2 separate regions of the Homo sapiens genome follow, and region 1 is linked to region 2. Evidence: promoter capture Hi-C in human tissues and cell types (Jung and others, 2019). All regions are on one chromosome and are shown on one strand. The core of a region is centred on a gene start or on the middle of the fragment in contact, and the rest is flanking DNA. Distances in the headings are between cores, read along the strand shown. Region 1 has its middle 29 kb from the start of DLEU1-AS1. Region 2 holds the start of DLEU7 (deleted in lymphocytic leukemia 7).

Region 1 (7,590 bases), core at 3,032-5,531, 290 kb after region 2:
TAAAGAATTAAAATGTCTATATATCGAAAATGTCATTAACAAATAACTAAGTGGCAGAAAACCCTGCCTCTGGAAGACAATATATTAGTATTCTTAATAGACAAATAATTCTCACGAGTCAACTAGAAATACTTCAAAACCTACACACACACACACACACACACACACACACACGCACGCACCTTTAACACAGGCCATTTTGAAAAGGAGGGGACTGAGACCAAGGAAAGCTGTGTAACTTACACAAGGCCACACGGTCAGCAGGCAGCAGAATCCAGATTGGTTCCAGAATCCATGCATGAAACCACCATACCTTGATATATTCATAGACAAAAGATGGGAAGGGGAGAGCAACAGCGGATGCTAGCAGTGTTTTCTTCTGACTTGCAAACCAATATATAGTTTGTATTAACTTCTTTGGAACATGAGGGTTGTCTCTCTACCCACAATAGATCCCATGCTGGTGGCTCTGCTCTTTCAGACAAAAGCATTTTCTGGTGAGTCCAGGACCATGTTCTAAGCAAAGGATCCCATGCCCGGGTCAATACAGCTCTGGGTTGAGTGCTGGCCCTGGCCCAAAACATAGGAACCTTATAAGCCACAAAGGCCCTGTTGGGGCCCTAAGGCATGGCTTTGTCTCCTTCTGAAGCTGTACCCTGAAACTCTGTCTTTCCTAAAGCTATCCGTTCATATGAGACATTCCTCTAAGCAATAAATCTCTTAACATTATTATTCCTGCAGGAGTCGGGGGTGCCTAGACTGTCAGAGTTTTCTTGGGATATAAAATTGTTCTGGAAATGATATGTTGGTACATTTATCTTCATTTTCTACCCTATCCCCCCAACCACTATGTAGATCTGGAAAGTCCTCTCCTGCAGCAGAAAGGGCTGTGTCTTGGCATATGAAGCAAAGCAGATGTCTACCTTTCATCTTTTCTCCACCATTCCACCATGACTTAAAAAAAACCAAATTTTTGTTGCACTTCCTATAAATTTTCAGATAAGTCACCTTCTGAAATTGGTATCCCAGCCCCGGCATAAATGCTTTTTTTTCCCCCTATACTTGGGCTTCTCCTACTATATACCAGTTACTGAAATTCATCTCATACTTGGCTACAAATGTCACTGTTTTCTTCTTCTGATCTTGTTCCCTGTTGAGTCTGGGACATCCCAGACCACAAAAAGCAAATACCAGGAGTATTTTGGGGAGACATGGCCAGCTGACTTCACAATTACTTAGTCTGCTCCAGGCTCTCCCAAAGTCAAGGTCTGCTTGAATTTTGCCAGGGCTTTTGTTCCATGTCCTAACTTTGACCTCTCTTTCAACATCTTTCTGCATGTAGGTTGCACATAGCATCATCTCCTACCTAGAAGCATCCTCTAGCTATAAGCAAGTCTCTCTAAGCCTATTTTCACAAAAGAGGCTTTCATGCTTACCTTATTCCCTGGAAGCCAAGCCATCATCCATCACTGTGCTACAGGGTGGTCTCTAGAGCTATCACATCCTCCACTTTACTGCTTCTCTGATTTCTGCTCCCAGACCCTGGGAAATCCCTCTCAGTCTTACGGGTGAGATGAAATTTTAAAACATCAGCTCTCAGTTGGACCCTTGTGGGTAAAAGCCACCTCCCTTCAATCCACACTCAACACTTTCCCATTCCCCATTGCAATTTTTCTTTGTTTACTTTTTTATTATGTGTGCAGATGTCATCCTCACTCTTAGAATGAAACCCCATAAAAGCAAGAATTATTTAATTCATTTTTAATATCCCCTAGGCACTTTTTCATCAGCATCTGGTACAAGGTTTTATTCATAGCAGGCGTTCTGCAAATATTTTATTTACTTACTTTCTTTCTTTCTTTGTTTGCTTGCTTGCTTGCTTCCTTGCTTTAAAGAGCACCTAGATTTTCAGGCCAGGGTAGAGTGCTCATGGCCATCTTAAACTTTCTTCAATATTTTGATTACTAAAGCCAACTGACATGGAGGATATAGGGCTAGAAAGAGAGGGAGCATCGAGCAAGTCTGGAATTCTTTCTTTTGATCTGTAATTAACTTGCTCTGTGAATATGGTACTTTCCCTCCCAAGGCTGCAGCAGATCCCCGTTCTGACCACTACTTCAACATGCATCACTCTTCCTGCTCTGCCCAACCTTGTCCTTGCGACAAGCTGCCATTCCTTCTTCAGGACTCATTCAAGGATTTCCTTCTCTGGAGAGACTTTCCTGCCTCCTGCTGAGGCCCCTCTGCTCTCAACTCCTATAGGACCTGATGAGAATCCCTAACATATCCTGTATCTGTTTGACTATAGTTTGGCTGCATGGAATAAACAACTCCAAAATAACAGTGGCTTAAACAAGATAGAAATTTTCTTCTCATGTTAAGAGAAAAAACCCAACAAATTATGAGTAAGCAGTTCAAGGTTGGTGAAGCTACTCCACAGTACCATCAGAGACCTAGGCTTCTAAACTTCAACACTCTAGTACTTGGCCCCCATACTCAAGGTCACTTCATGTTTCGAAAAGGCTGCTGGAGTTTCAGGCCAGAAGAAGGAAGAAAGGCAACTAGGAAAGAGCAGCCCCTTCTTCTCCATTAGCTTCCTTTAAAGAACTCCTGGGAAGTCCACATAACACATTTCTATTTACATTTCCTTACACAGACAATATTTTTGCTTCTTTATGATTTGCTTAATAATATTTTCTTTTCTCTAGCTTGCGCTTTCTTATAAAAATACAGTATAAAATACAGTACATATGTATTATAAGGAAGAAAAAACATGTTTACTATTGATTAAGTGGAAGTAGTCCACTTAAGTGGATTAAGATCTCCAACCTCATCATCTTCATCTTCATTTTAAGTAGGTTGAAGAGAAAGATGAGGGGTTAGTCTTGCTGCCACAGGGGTGACAGCGACAGGAGAGATAGGCACACTTGGTGTAACTTTACAGAAAGACATCATAATTTCTGCCTGACTTTTTTTGCTTTTCCATTTCTTGAAAAATGATGTTTCTCTATGGTACCAATTTTTCTTTCACCATTTGCTTTAGTTTTAGTGCCCATATCATGGAAGGGTCCATGCGTAAAAGAAGTCAAAAGCAGTCTTGAATAATCACCCTTCTGCCTGACTGTCAACTGTCAATTTGTCTTCTGGTACTGCTTCTGTGTCATCTTCCTCATCACCTGGCAGTGGTTCAGAACCACTCATCTCCATCAAGTTATCCTCTGTTAATTTCTCTGGTGTGGTGTCTATTAGCTATAGAATTGGATAATTGGAGAAACAAGATCCATATCTTGAAACCCTTCATCTTCCACCTTTTTTGCCTTATCCACAGTCTCTTTTACGATTTCCTGGGTTGGTTCCATCATAAATCCTGTGAAGTCATGCACAACATCTGGACACAGTTTTCTCCAGCAGAAACTTATTGTTTCAAGCTTGATGGCTTTCATGGCTTCTTCTATAACAACAATGGCATCTGCAACGTTGTAATCCTTCCAGACCTTCATGATGTTCTCTTGGGCTCTCTTCCACAGTATTGACAGTCCTTTGCAAAGGGTACCATGTGTAATGAGGCTTAAAGGTCCTATGACTCCTTGATCTAGAGACTGAATTAGAGACATTGTGCTTCGGGGCAAGTAGACCACTCAACACCTTCAATGGTGAAGGCATGAGGCTCTGAGTGGCCAGGGGCATTGTCCATTATCAAAGGAACTTTGAAAGGCACTCCCTTACTGGCAAGGTATTTCCTGACTTCAGGAACAAAGCATCGTTGGAACTAATCCAGACAAAGAGTTCTCGTTGTCCAGGCCTTCTTGTTGTACAACCGAAAGACTGGCAGCTGGTGTTTATCTTTTCCCTTCAAGGCTTGGAGATTGGCAACTTTCTGGATAAGAGCAGCCCGGTCATAAACTTGACTACATATGCACAAAACAGTAGAGTTAGCCTAACCCTTCTGGCCTTAAATCCTGGTGCTCACTTCTCTTCCTTACTAATAAATGTCCTTTGTGGCTTTTTTTTCTTTTTTCCCAGAATAGGGCACTTTTGTCTGTATTAAAAGCCTACTTGGGCAGATATCCTTTCTCTTCAATGATTTTCTTTTTTTTTTTTTTCCTTTTCAGATAACTTTTTTTAAAGTTTTATTTTTATTTATTTTATTTATTTATTTTTATTTTTTTTTACTATTATTATACTTTAAGTTTTTGGGTACATGTGCACAATGTGCAGGTTAGTTACATATGTATACATGTGCCATGCTGGTGTGCTGCACCCATTAACTTGTCATTTAGCATTAGGTATATCTCCTAATGCTATCCCTCCCCCCTCCCCCCACCCCACAACAGTCCCCAGAATGTGATGTTCCCCTTCCTGTGTCCATGTGTTCTCATTGTTCAGTTCCCATCTATGAGTGAGAACATGCGGTGTTTGGTTTTTTGTCCTTGCGATAGTTTACTGAGAATGATGATTTCCAATTTCATCCATGTCCCTACAAAGGACATGAACTCATCATTTTTTATGGCTGCCTAGTATTCTATGGTGTATATGTGCCACATTTTCTTAATCCAGTCTATCATTGTTGGACATTTGGCTTGGTTCCAAGTCTTTGCTATTGTGAATAGTGCCGCAATAAACATACGTGTGCATGTGTCTTTATAGCAGCATGATTTATAGTCCTTTGGGTATATACCCAGCAATGGGATGGCTGGGTCAAATGGTATTTCTAGTTCTAGATCCCTGAGGAATCGCCACACCGACTTCCACAATGGTTGAACTAGTTTACAGTCCCACCAACAGTGTAAAAGTGTTCCTATTTCTCCACATCCTCTCCAGCACCTGTTGTTTCCTGACTTTTTAATGATTGCCATTCTAACTGGTGTGAGATGGTATCTCATTGTGGTTTTGATTTGCATTTCTCTGATGGCCAGTGATGATGAGCATTTTTTCATGTGTCTTTTGGCTGCATAAATGTCTTCTTTTGAGAAGTGTCTGTTCATATCCTTTGCCCACTTTTTGATGGGGTTGTTTGTTTTTTTCTTGTAAATTTGAACAGAAATTATAACAAACTGTCTCTCAGACCACAGTGCAATCGAACTAGAACTCAGGATTAAGAAACTCACTGAAAACCGCTCAACTACATGGAAACTGAACAACCTGCTCCTGAATGACTACTGGGTACATAACGAAATGAAGGCAGAAATAAAGATGTTCTTTGAAACCAATGAGAACAAAGACACAACATACCAGAATCTCTGGGACACATTCAAAGCAGTGTGTAGAGGGAAATTTATAGCACTAAATGCCCACAGGAGAAAGCAGGAAAGATCCAAAATTGACACCCTAACATCACAATTAAAAGAACTAGAGAAGCAAGAGCAAACACATTCAAAAGCTAGCAGAAGGCAAGAAATAACTAAAATCAGAGCAGAACTGAAGGAAATAGAGACACAAAAAACCCTTCATAAATTAATGAATCTAGGATCTGGTTTTTTGAAAGGATCAACAAAATTGATAGACCGCTAGCAAGAATAATAAAGAAAAAAAGAGAGAAGAATCAAATAGACACAATAAAAAATGATAAAGGGGATATCACCACCGATCCCACAGAAATACAAACTACCATCAGAGAATACTACAAACACCTCTACGCAAATAAACTAGAAAATCTAGAAGAAATGGATACATTCCTCAACACATACACTCTCCCAAGACTAAACCAGGAAGAAGTTGAATCTCTGAATAGAACAATAACAGGATATGAAATTGTGGCAATAATCAATAGCTTACCAACCAAAAAGAGTCCAGGACCAGATGGATTCACAGCCGAATTCTACCAGAGGTACAAGGAGGAACTGGTACCATTCCTTCTGAAACTATTCCAATCAATAGAAAAAGAGGGAATCCTCCCTAACTCATTTTATGAGGCCAGCATCATCCTGATACCAAAGCCTGGCAGAGACACAACCAAAAAAGAGAATTTTAGACCAATATCCTTGATGAACATTGATGCAAAAATCCTCAATAAAATACTGGCAAACCGAATCCAGCAGCACATCAAAAAGCTTATCCACCATGATCAAGTGGGATTTTCTTAATACCATACGGGAACTGGTCTCCTGTCTCTTGGTTGGCAGAAATTGCTTCTACTATCTTGATATTTTTCAAGCCAAACCTCTCTCTAAAATTATCAAACTATCCTTTGCTGGCATTAAATTCTCCAGCTTTAGATCCTTTACCTTCCTTTTGCTTTAAGTTGTCACATGATGACATTGCTTTTTCTCTAAACATATTAGAGTCTATAGGTATGACTTTCTTATAGCAATCCTGCACCCACACTAAAGCTACATTTTTCAATACAAGATTAAAAGTATTTCACAAAAGTGCAAGATTTCCACACCTGCTGGTGTCACTGCAGCAACAGCTTCACAAATTTCCTTTTCTTTTTTTACTATGGCCCTTACATGGGGTTTACTTATCTTGAAATGGTGGGCAACTGCAGCTGCAGACCTCAATCTATGGTATGTGTCAGGCAATTCAACTTTTTCTTGTACTGTCATTACTTTTCTCTGCTTCTTGGGAGCACTTCCAGCATCACTATGGTGTGATTCAAGGTTTACTGTATTGTACCAAACATGATGAAATGTACAGGAGAACCCAAAGAGATCACTTTTTACTTTGATACACAATTCCTTAGCATCACACAGCATTTAAGCGAATACTCACAGCAGGGGAACTCACTGCAATAGCAACTGTAGGTGGCTACAAAATTATTATAATAGAACAGTATGTACTACAGTTAATTTTATGCAGCTATGATTTAACACTGCATCATTACTTTTAAATATTTCTACTGTAAATGGTGCCATGTATGGTCTCTTTGCATAAGTTTTAATAAATTTTAGCTTTCTATAATAGATTTGTGTATATTTTATGGTAGCAAATCACAAAATAGACTAGTACCTACATATATTTTATGGATTCATGACATACCCCTTTTTCTAGGCTACACAGTTTGTCTGCAACTTTTTTCAAGCTGTTGCAAATCATCAACAAATTTTCCAATATATTTATTGAAAAAAATCCATGTATAAGTAGACTCACACAGTTCAAACTCATGTTGCTTAAGGGTCAATTGTACCATCTATTTTTAAGACCCTGGAAGGAAATAAGATCAGGCTTCAAACAAAAGACTCTGCATATAGTTTATAAAGATTCGATAGAAGTAGCAGAAACCTGATCAAGCCAAGGTAATATTAGAGAATCTAAACTGACACGTAAATATGGAAGAATTGTACCTTGTCAGCATCCTATCTCTCTTTGCTCTGCGAATCCAGTGTCAGTCGCTCTTTCTCTCTGATTCACTAGAATCAAACAGAGCTTTCACAGACCAGGGGAAGAGGCTAAATGATTTGCCTGCTACTAACATGTTTAGAGAGAAATTCAAATCTTCTGGCTTTAAGTGTATTAAATTACTCAACATTAAATTACTGACCACATTGTCAGTTCATGGCAAGTTTCAGTTGATAGGTTCTTTTTGATCAGTGACTATCTTTCAATGGTCATTTCCCAGTTTTGGTTTCTACCTAAACTTCACTACTGGTC
Region 2 (6,923 bases), core at 4,330-6,829:
TGGGCAGGTCACTTGAGGTCAGGAGTCTGAGACCAGCCTGGCCAACATGATGAAAACCCACCTCTATTAAAAATACAAAAATTAGCTGGGTGTGGTGGTACATATCCATAATCCCAGCTATCCAGGAGGCTGAGGCAGGAGAATTGCTTGAACCCGGGAGGCAGAGGTTGCGATGAGCTGAGATTGTGCCACTGCACTCCAGCCTGCCCGACAGAGCAAGACTCTGTCTCAAAAATAAATAAATAAATAAAAATAAAAAATAAAAATAAATTTAAATATATAGACCCAAGTCAAGCATTTCTTTCCATCACAGTAAAAGGGTACCTACTGAAACTTGAAAATACAGGATGATCCTGGAAAGTGATAAAGGTGGTCACATTTTTTTCATTAAGGATCCTAGAATTTAGTTGGCAAAATCACTGAAACTCACTTGACCTTTCTCTTCTCCATTTTTATCACTACTACTCTTTCTGCCACCTCATTTCAATACTATAAGCCATATCTACACAGATAATCAAAATAGTTCAGGAAACCAAGAAGCTTTCTTGGTTTTCTCTCCAAGTGAAATTTTTCCAAGTAAATTTTTCTCTCCAAGTGAAAGGATGTTCCGCAGGGGTTAGATTTTATAATCCAAAATGGAGGGGGAAATCCAGCAAGGTTGTCTTACTGAAATGTAGGCAGCATGAAAATTCATGGCATTCCGTCACTCTTAAACTTGAAATCATCCACCAAAGCTACAATAATTAGAAAAAATTATATTGACTTTTAAAAAATCCACTTTTGATTTTTTTCTGCCAATATCAATAATTCTCCTTGGAAATAAACTAACTGATTACTAAGCCGAAACCAAATAACTGATTATTAAGACAGAACCAAGCACAATGATTTATATGTCCAGAAAGAAATGCATTTTGTGTTGACAAATTGCAAAGGCGCAAATGTACATCAGATGACATCTGGACTGGCAGGTGAGAGTTAACATTTTTAACTTATTTTCTTTCCCTTTACCCACTCTTGTCTATTTTTCTTCTCTAGCTTCATTAAACTTCACCAGCTTCACAAGGTCTGGGAAGGTAGTGCATATGATGTTCTGAAAGCACACCATCCTATGTAAACAATTGTTTTTGGCAATTCAGAGACTTCAGGGCGGTATTGCGTCTTTGTTTTATCCACCAAAATCAAATGTTTAGGCCAAAGTTAGAAGGGCACGTGCATTTACTTTTATAACTTGGCATATTCAAACATTACAATGGTACGTTTAAAAAAAAGAATTTGGTCTTTTTTGCTCTTTCTTTCTTTCTTGGGCCTACACCTTGTCCTAGTTCCATTGTTTTCTCTTTGACAGTACATTTTCATATCTTGGTGTATCTCTTCAGCATCTGTTTCTCCTCAATCATAATTTTCATTCACGAATAATAACTCTTTGGTCTCTTTGGACATGTTTTGTTCTGACCTCACCTATGAACTTCACCAGGGTGCGCTGAAGGTTAACAGCTCTATTTCTGGAATTCTCTTGGATCCTTTTTGAGGAAAAATGCCAAAGAATATAAACAGGGCTCAAATGTATCTGGGCTCTGCCAAGTCCTTTGAGGACAGCTCCACAGAACTGTACCTTCTGCCAGCTCCCTTCGGTTCTCATTGTGCCCGGCTTCTCCACGATTCCACATAGGAACCTGCATCTTTTGCTCATGCAGGAAAGGAAACTTTGGATTAACAGAAGTGCCAGAATATTCATTTATCTAACAACACTCTACCTTGCCCATTAACAGGTAGAAAATTGCTTCTCACTTCACTGAGCTTTCTACCCTCTTCTCTTTTCCATCCCACAGGGTGCTGAATGTTTCCAGTGCTCATTTAAAAATGCTCCCATCAGAGTTACCCAAAGAGCTTTTCCCACAATTGTTGAGACTGTAGAAAGGTTAGGTGAATGGCATAAGCACTGCTAGAAGTAGTTGGTTGGAGGGACCTTCTGGCAGTGCCTTGCCTAAGGGGCACTGGGTCACAGGGTCACTCCATGAACATGCCATCTTTCCTATAACATATGTCAGGCTATTTGCTTCAGCTGTGACTCCTTCTGTTGCAGTAGGCAGTAAATCCAATCCAAAGAGGCTTAAGCAAAAAGAGACTTCATCGGCTCGTATAACTGAAAAGCTCAGAGGTGGGGCTGACTTCCTGTGCTGCTAAATGTGGACCTCAAATGCTGCTATACAGCCACGGTTTCTCTCTATACATCTGTTGGCTTTTGTTTCATGAACGTCTTCTCTCCATGAGTGCTGGCTCATTCATAGGCGGGCTGTCCCCATCAAACTCACAAGATGGCTGCAGAGGCTCCAGAACTTGTATCTTCTCAGCTTTACTTGCACAGGGGTCACTGAAGTCAGATATTTGACAGTAGAAAGATCAGCCTCATGAAACTGGACTTGCTGTGTATTGATAAAGAGAAGCAGCCCTGGAAATCTGATATATTCTTTACCTGGAAACCCCTGCAAAATCCTCATTGTTCTCTGTTGCCATTGCTGATGCTTGGTAACAAAACCTTGCTTCATATCAAGTAGTTTTCATCCTCCCTCCACCAATTGCTTTGAGAGAGGCTAGGCTCAGCCCCAACTCCTACACTGAATTCTAGTTCACCTTAGACTCTCATGGTAGCCTCTTTCCTCTTGACTGTGATTAATTAGGCAAGAACATGTGACACAATTCTGGTCAAGGAGATGTGAGAGGAAGCCAGCTGAAGGCTTTTGAGAAGTGTTTCCTTGCTCTTGAGAAGGAATACACAGGAAAAGATGGCCTTTTCTTCTAGTTATTGTTGTCTAGACATGATGCCAGCAGCTGCTAGTAGCCATAGGAGAACTAGCCCAAAAATTAAGGACAAAGCTGATGTGCTGGGAATGGCATGGCAGAAAGAAGGAAGGAACAAAGGGCTTTGATGACACTGAGGAGCTGCTATATTAACCAACTCTGGAGCCACTCTGCCTTTGGACTTCTTGTGATGTGAGACAATAAATTATTCTTATTGATTAAACTATGTTATGTTGAGTTTTCTGGTTTAAAGGGAATTTGATCTTTTGCTGTTTCATCTCTTGGCCTACACTTCTTTTTTGGCCTGTACTCTTTGCATCTGTTGTTTTCTCTTTTACAGTGCATTCAGCTGAAAGCATCCTAAAAGATACTGTCTCATTGGCTCTAGCTGGGTCATGTGCCCATTCCTGACCATGCATGCACTGTGGGGATGTGATGTGTGATGGGACTTAGGCTAGATGATCCAGTACTCTTCTGCAGTGAGATGGGCTCATCCCATCTGACTTCACGGGCAGAGTGTGGAGGAAAAGGCATATCTACTGAGAAATGAGGGTATGATTTCTATAAAATAGTGAAATATATGTTGTGAAACAAACATATCAGATATCTAATACTTTGTCCTTTTGAATGTGCCCTTTATTACAGAATGGCCTCAAATCGTGAGTACAGTGGGTAAGAAGTAGGCTATCTGTTACTTCGTCTGGTAGCCCAGCAAACGTAACTACGGAGGTGTTTTAGACCAAAGGTAGATCTGCTATGCTATTGACTCATCTAAATAGACTATGAAAATTTTTCCTGAGTTAGGCTCTCATATCTCTAGCTTTGGAACACAAGCCATTTTGAGATCATAGCAAAACACAGTGCGACCCACAGCCAAAACAGACAAAACACTCAGTTGCCAGATGATCCAGGGCTTCCTAAGAATACTAGAAAAAGCAGGCAGCAATTTAAGCAGCATGTGCCATCCCTCAGGCCCCAAGGTTTTCTGGCACCCTTCTGTCATGCCCCCTGAGGTTCAGTTGGTCTCATGGCTCTGACTCAGTGTGGTATGTAGAAGAGTGGGGCCTCAGGTCAGCCTGTGTCTAGTGATTTCAATTCTGCTCTTGGCTGCAATTCCAACTGTCAAGAAAGTTTTGCAGTCAGCCATTTGATAGTGGAAGGGTTAGCCCATGAAACTGAATTTCCTGTGTATCTGGAAAGAGAGGCAGCCCTAGAGATCTGACATGCTCTGTGAAAATTAGGGGTTCATTTTTGCTATTGCTGGTTAGTCTCTGCTGAACCTAATATATTTCAACATTTGAAGACTTTTTTTAAAAAGAAAATTTTTTTCTTTCTATTTTTTATTATGAACTTAAGTAACTTCATGGCAAAAAAATCTAATCAACATTAAACTATTTACTTCCCTCCAAAGTAATTTCCTCTCTGTCAATGCACAGACGTGCATTTTTACTTAGTTATAATTAGTGTGAACATACTCGTTTTTGTTTAAGAAAGGTTTTCTTTACCTTGGCATTCAGATTCGTTTTCATAGGCGAAGAAAGCACTGGGAAGGAGAAGGAACCTTTGCTGGCAAGTTGGGAGGATTATATGGGGTCATACTATCCCAGGGTTAAGGAAACCTTAAAGGACCCAACATCCCTCTCCATATCTCTTCTGATGATCCTTTTGTGCTCACAGACTAACCAGTGTGGCCTTTTCACTCAAAAGCCTCTCCAGATCTGCACAGCACCAAGGGTGCAGTCTGGCTCCCAAAGGAGTAATGCAATTCCATCCTCAGGTCTGCCAGGGCCCACCTGTCTGTCGTGGGCATGCACCATTGCCCTGGCTTTACTGGGCTGTTGGGTTGTCTAGTGGTTTTCCTTGCAGAAAGCAAGCAGGAACAATGCTGCTCCGGACTGGTTTTCCATACCACTCCTCTCAAATATCTTCTATTTTCTTAAGTGTGATCACACACCCATGGTTTCCAATCTATCAAAGCATAACATTGCTAGTCGCTTTTTTCTAAGTTAAGGAAGTAGCCATGTTGGGTTTAATTAAAAACAGCAACTATTTGTACAGCTGTCCCTAAGTTCATGGCTCATAAAAGGATTAACTTCAACCTTGCTGCCTAAGTCTTTTGGGAGTGTCACAAAAAAACATTTAGGCTTTTCTGGGCAGTGCCAGGCCTGGGCCTTGAGGCTTGCTGATGCTAGTTCAGCCACCAGGCTCTCGGTGCTCAAGTGGCACCCAGCAAAGCAGAGAAGAGCAGAACTTCCAGATACACAACTCCTCCTTCTTTTGTTTGGGGGATGCAAGGCCTTGAAGGCTGCTTCAACAAGTTTCTGAAAATTCCCCTCGGGTTGGGAAAGGCACAGTCTTCCTTTTGCAAGTTTTTCTAGAGCCCTTCGTACTTTTGCCCTAGAGTGGGTCTTTTGCACCCCCACCTCCCAGACCTCAGTGGTCATTGGCAGGCATCCTTCGAAGGAGGTGGGGGCGGGGTATCCCCGCCGATGGATGCGCCCGCACAAAGCAGCACGTTTTCTCATCAAAGCCCTGGAGAGAGGGAAGAAGCAACGCTCAGCATTTCGCTGATTTTCAAGTGCACACCGAGCAGCGCTTCAGGCAGCTTTGGGTCAGAACACGCCTGATTCGGACTTCAGGCGAAGGCAGAGGCCAGCACGGGTCACCGATTCAGAGCCGGGGGCGGGGCCGACCACACACGCTGTGAGACCCAGAGGCCGAGGAGCCGCGGGTTAGAAAATGTGACCTTGGCGACCCCAACGCCCCCGCCTCCCTCGCTGCTGCTCCACCTGCACGCGGAGCGCGCCGGGCCGCCAGCGGAGGCGATGGCCAGCCCTGCGCCCTTAGTGGCCTCCATCAGCCACCAAATGGTGGCTCTGCAGACCTTGCAGCTGCTGCAGCAGGAGTGGGGCTGGGGGGACGGTCCAGTCGCCCCCGGGAACCCGCGGGACCCAGACCACGTGTCCACCGCTCCAGCCCGTCGCTCAGGCCCGCCGCGGGCCCGGCCGGGGCCCGGGCGCGAGGAGCGGGGCGGGGGCGTGGGGACCAGGAGTCGGCGGACCGCGGCGCGGGCGAACTCCCCAGAGGAGGAGGTAGTGCGAGGCGCTGAGGGGGGCGCCGAGTTGCTGCCCTTCCCCCGGGACCGCGGGCCCTGCACCCTGGCCCAGATGGCGATGCGCAGCGCGCTGGCCCGCGTGGTGGACTCGACTTCGGAGCTGGTCAGCGTGGAGCAGACGCTGCTGGGGCCCCTCCAGCAGGAGCGGTCCTTTCCCATTCACCTGAAGGTGAGTCTGGCCCCCGCCATCCCCTCTGGCGTGCAGGGTAACCTCCCATCCTCCAAGGGTGGGGCTGCTGGGATGGCGATGGGTGGATCGCAGGATCCCAAACACTGCTGCCCACTGTGATTCAGCCCCAGTGGGAGAAGGAAGGGGGCGGGGGACACTCTGGGGACTCAGCAGGAGGGGCAGGGAGCCCCAGACCCACCTGAGGCCCGCCTGGCTGGCACAACCGAGATGTGGGGACTGCCTTGCCAAAACCTCCCCCTGGAACTCCTTCCTCTCTCACATAAATCAGCTTCCTGCGCTAGAAAGGCCCTTTCCACACGTGCAGCTTGTAGGGATAGAGGACAGCTCCCCCCACCCACTTTCCAAATTAATAACGCTTCCTCCAGAGCCTTAAATACACTTACTAAGTCCCTTCTGCCTTTTGTATGATGAAATCATCTACATTTATTTAAAGTTCCTTCACATTCATGAATCACTATTATTTTTTGCATAAATCCAATTCCCCACAGAGCTAAGGGGTCTTACAGAGTCAACCTACATTCTCATAAAGTGGGGTGAGAGCTGGGTGGGTCCCGGGTGTTAAAGCGTGAATACTAAATGCTAAACTCTTGCTAAGTCACCCAGCTCATATAGGTAGGGCACATTTCCTCTTAAGGTACCAAACTGTGTTAGCCAATTTAGCCCGGGAAGGGAGCAGCTGTCTCCCAGGCTGAGTGAGATTGCGGAAATCTGGGGGTCTGGGTTTCAGTCCTGGACTTGCCATTAACTAACCTAATTGGTTTAAGGTCACGAATCTCTCTGAGACATTCTGGCTTTCAGATTTTGACCAGGAGCATTGCT

Evidence for each region. The method cuts DNA at HindIII sites, captures the fragments that hold promoters and counts their contacts. A contact is called where the count stands out against the background at its distance.
Region 1: a contact is called between a fragment that was not itself captured here and the fragment with the promoter of DLEU7 in region 2, in 2 of the 25 tissues and cell types used here (IMR-90 fibroblasts and mesenchymal stem cells).

Annotation. Positions count from the first base shown.
Region 1 is chr13:50,552,859-50,560,448 of GRCh38, reverse strand. No RefSeq gene overlaps it. Among named protein-coding and RNA genes, the nearest start is that of DLEU1-AS1, 29 kb to the right of the region's middle. The HindIII fragment of the contact is 5,884 bases long and covers 1,340-7,223 here.
Region 2 is chr13:50,842,348-50,849,270 of GRCh38, reverse strand. It overlaps DLEU7 (deleted in lymphocytic leukemia 7), which reads left to right and starts at 5,579. Exons shown (of 2, transcript NM_001306135.2): 1 at 5,579-6,083. The coding sequence starts at 5,625. It overlaps DLEU7-AS1 (DLEU7 antisense RNA 1), which reads right to left. Exons shown (of 5, transcript NR_046551.1): 5 at 1-734. RefSeq lists an enhancer at 5,723-6,649. The HindIII fragment of the contact is 10,732 bases long and covers 143-6,923 here.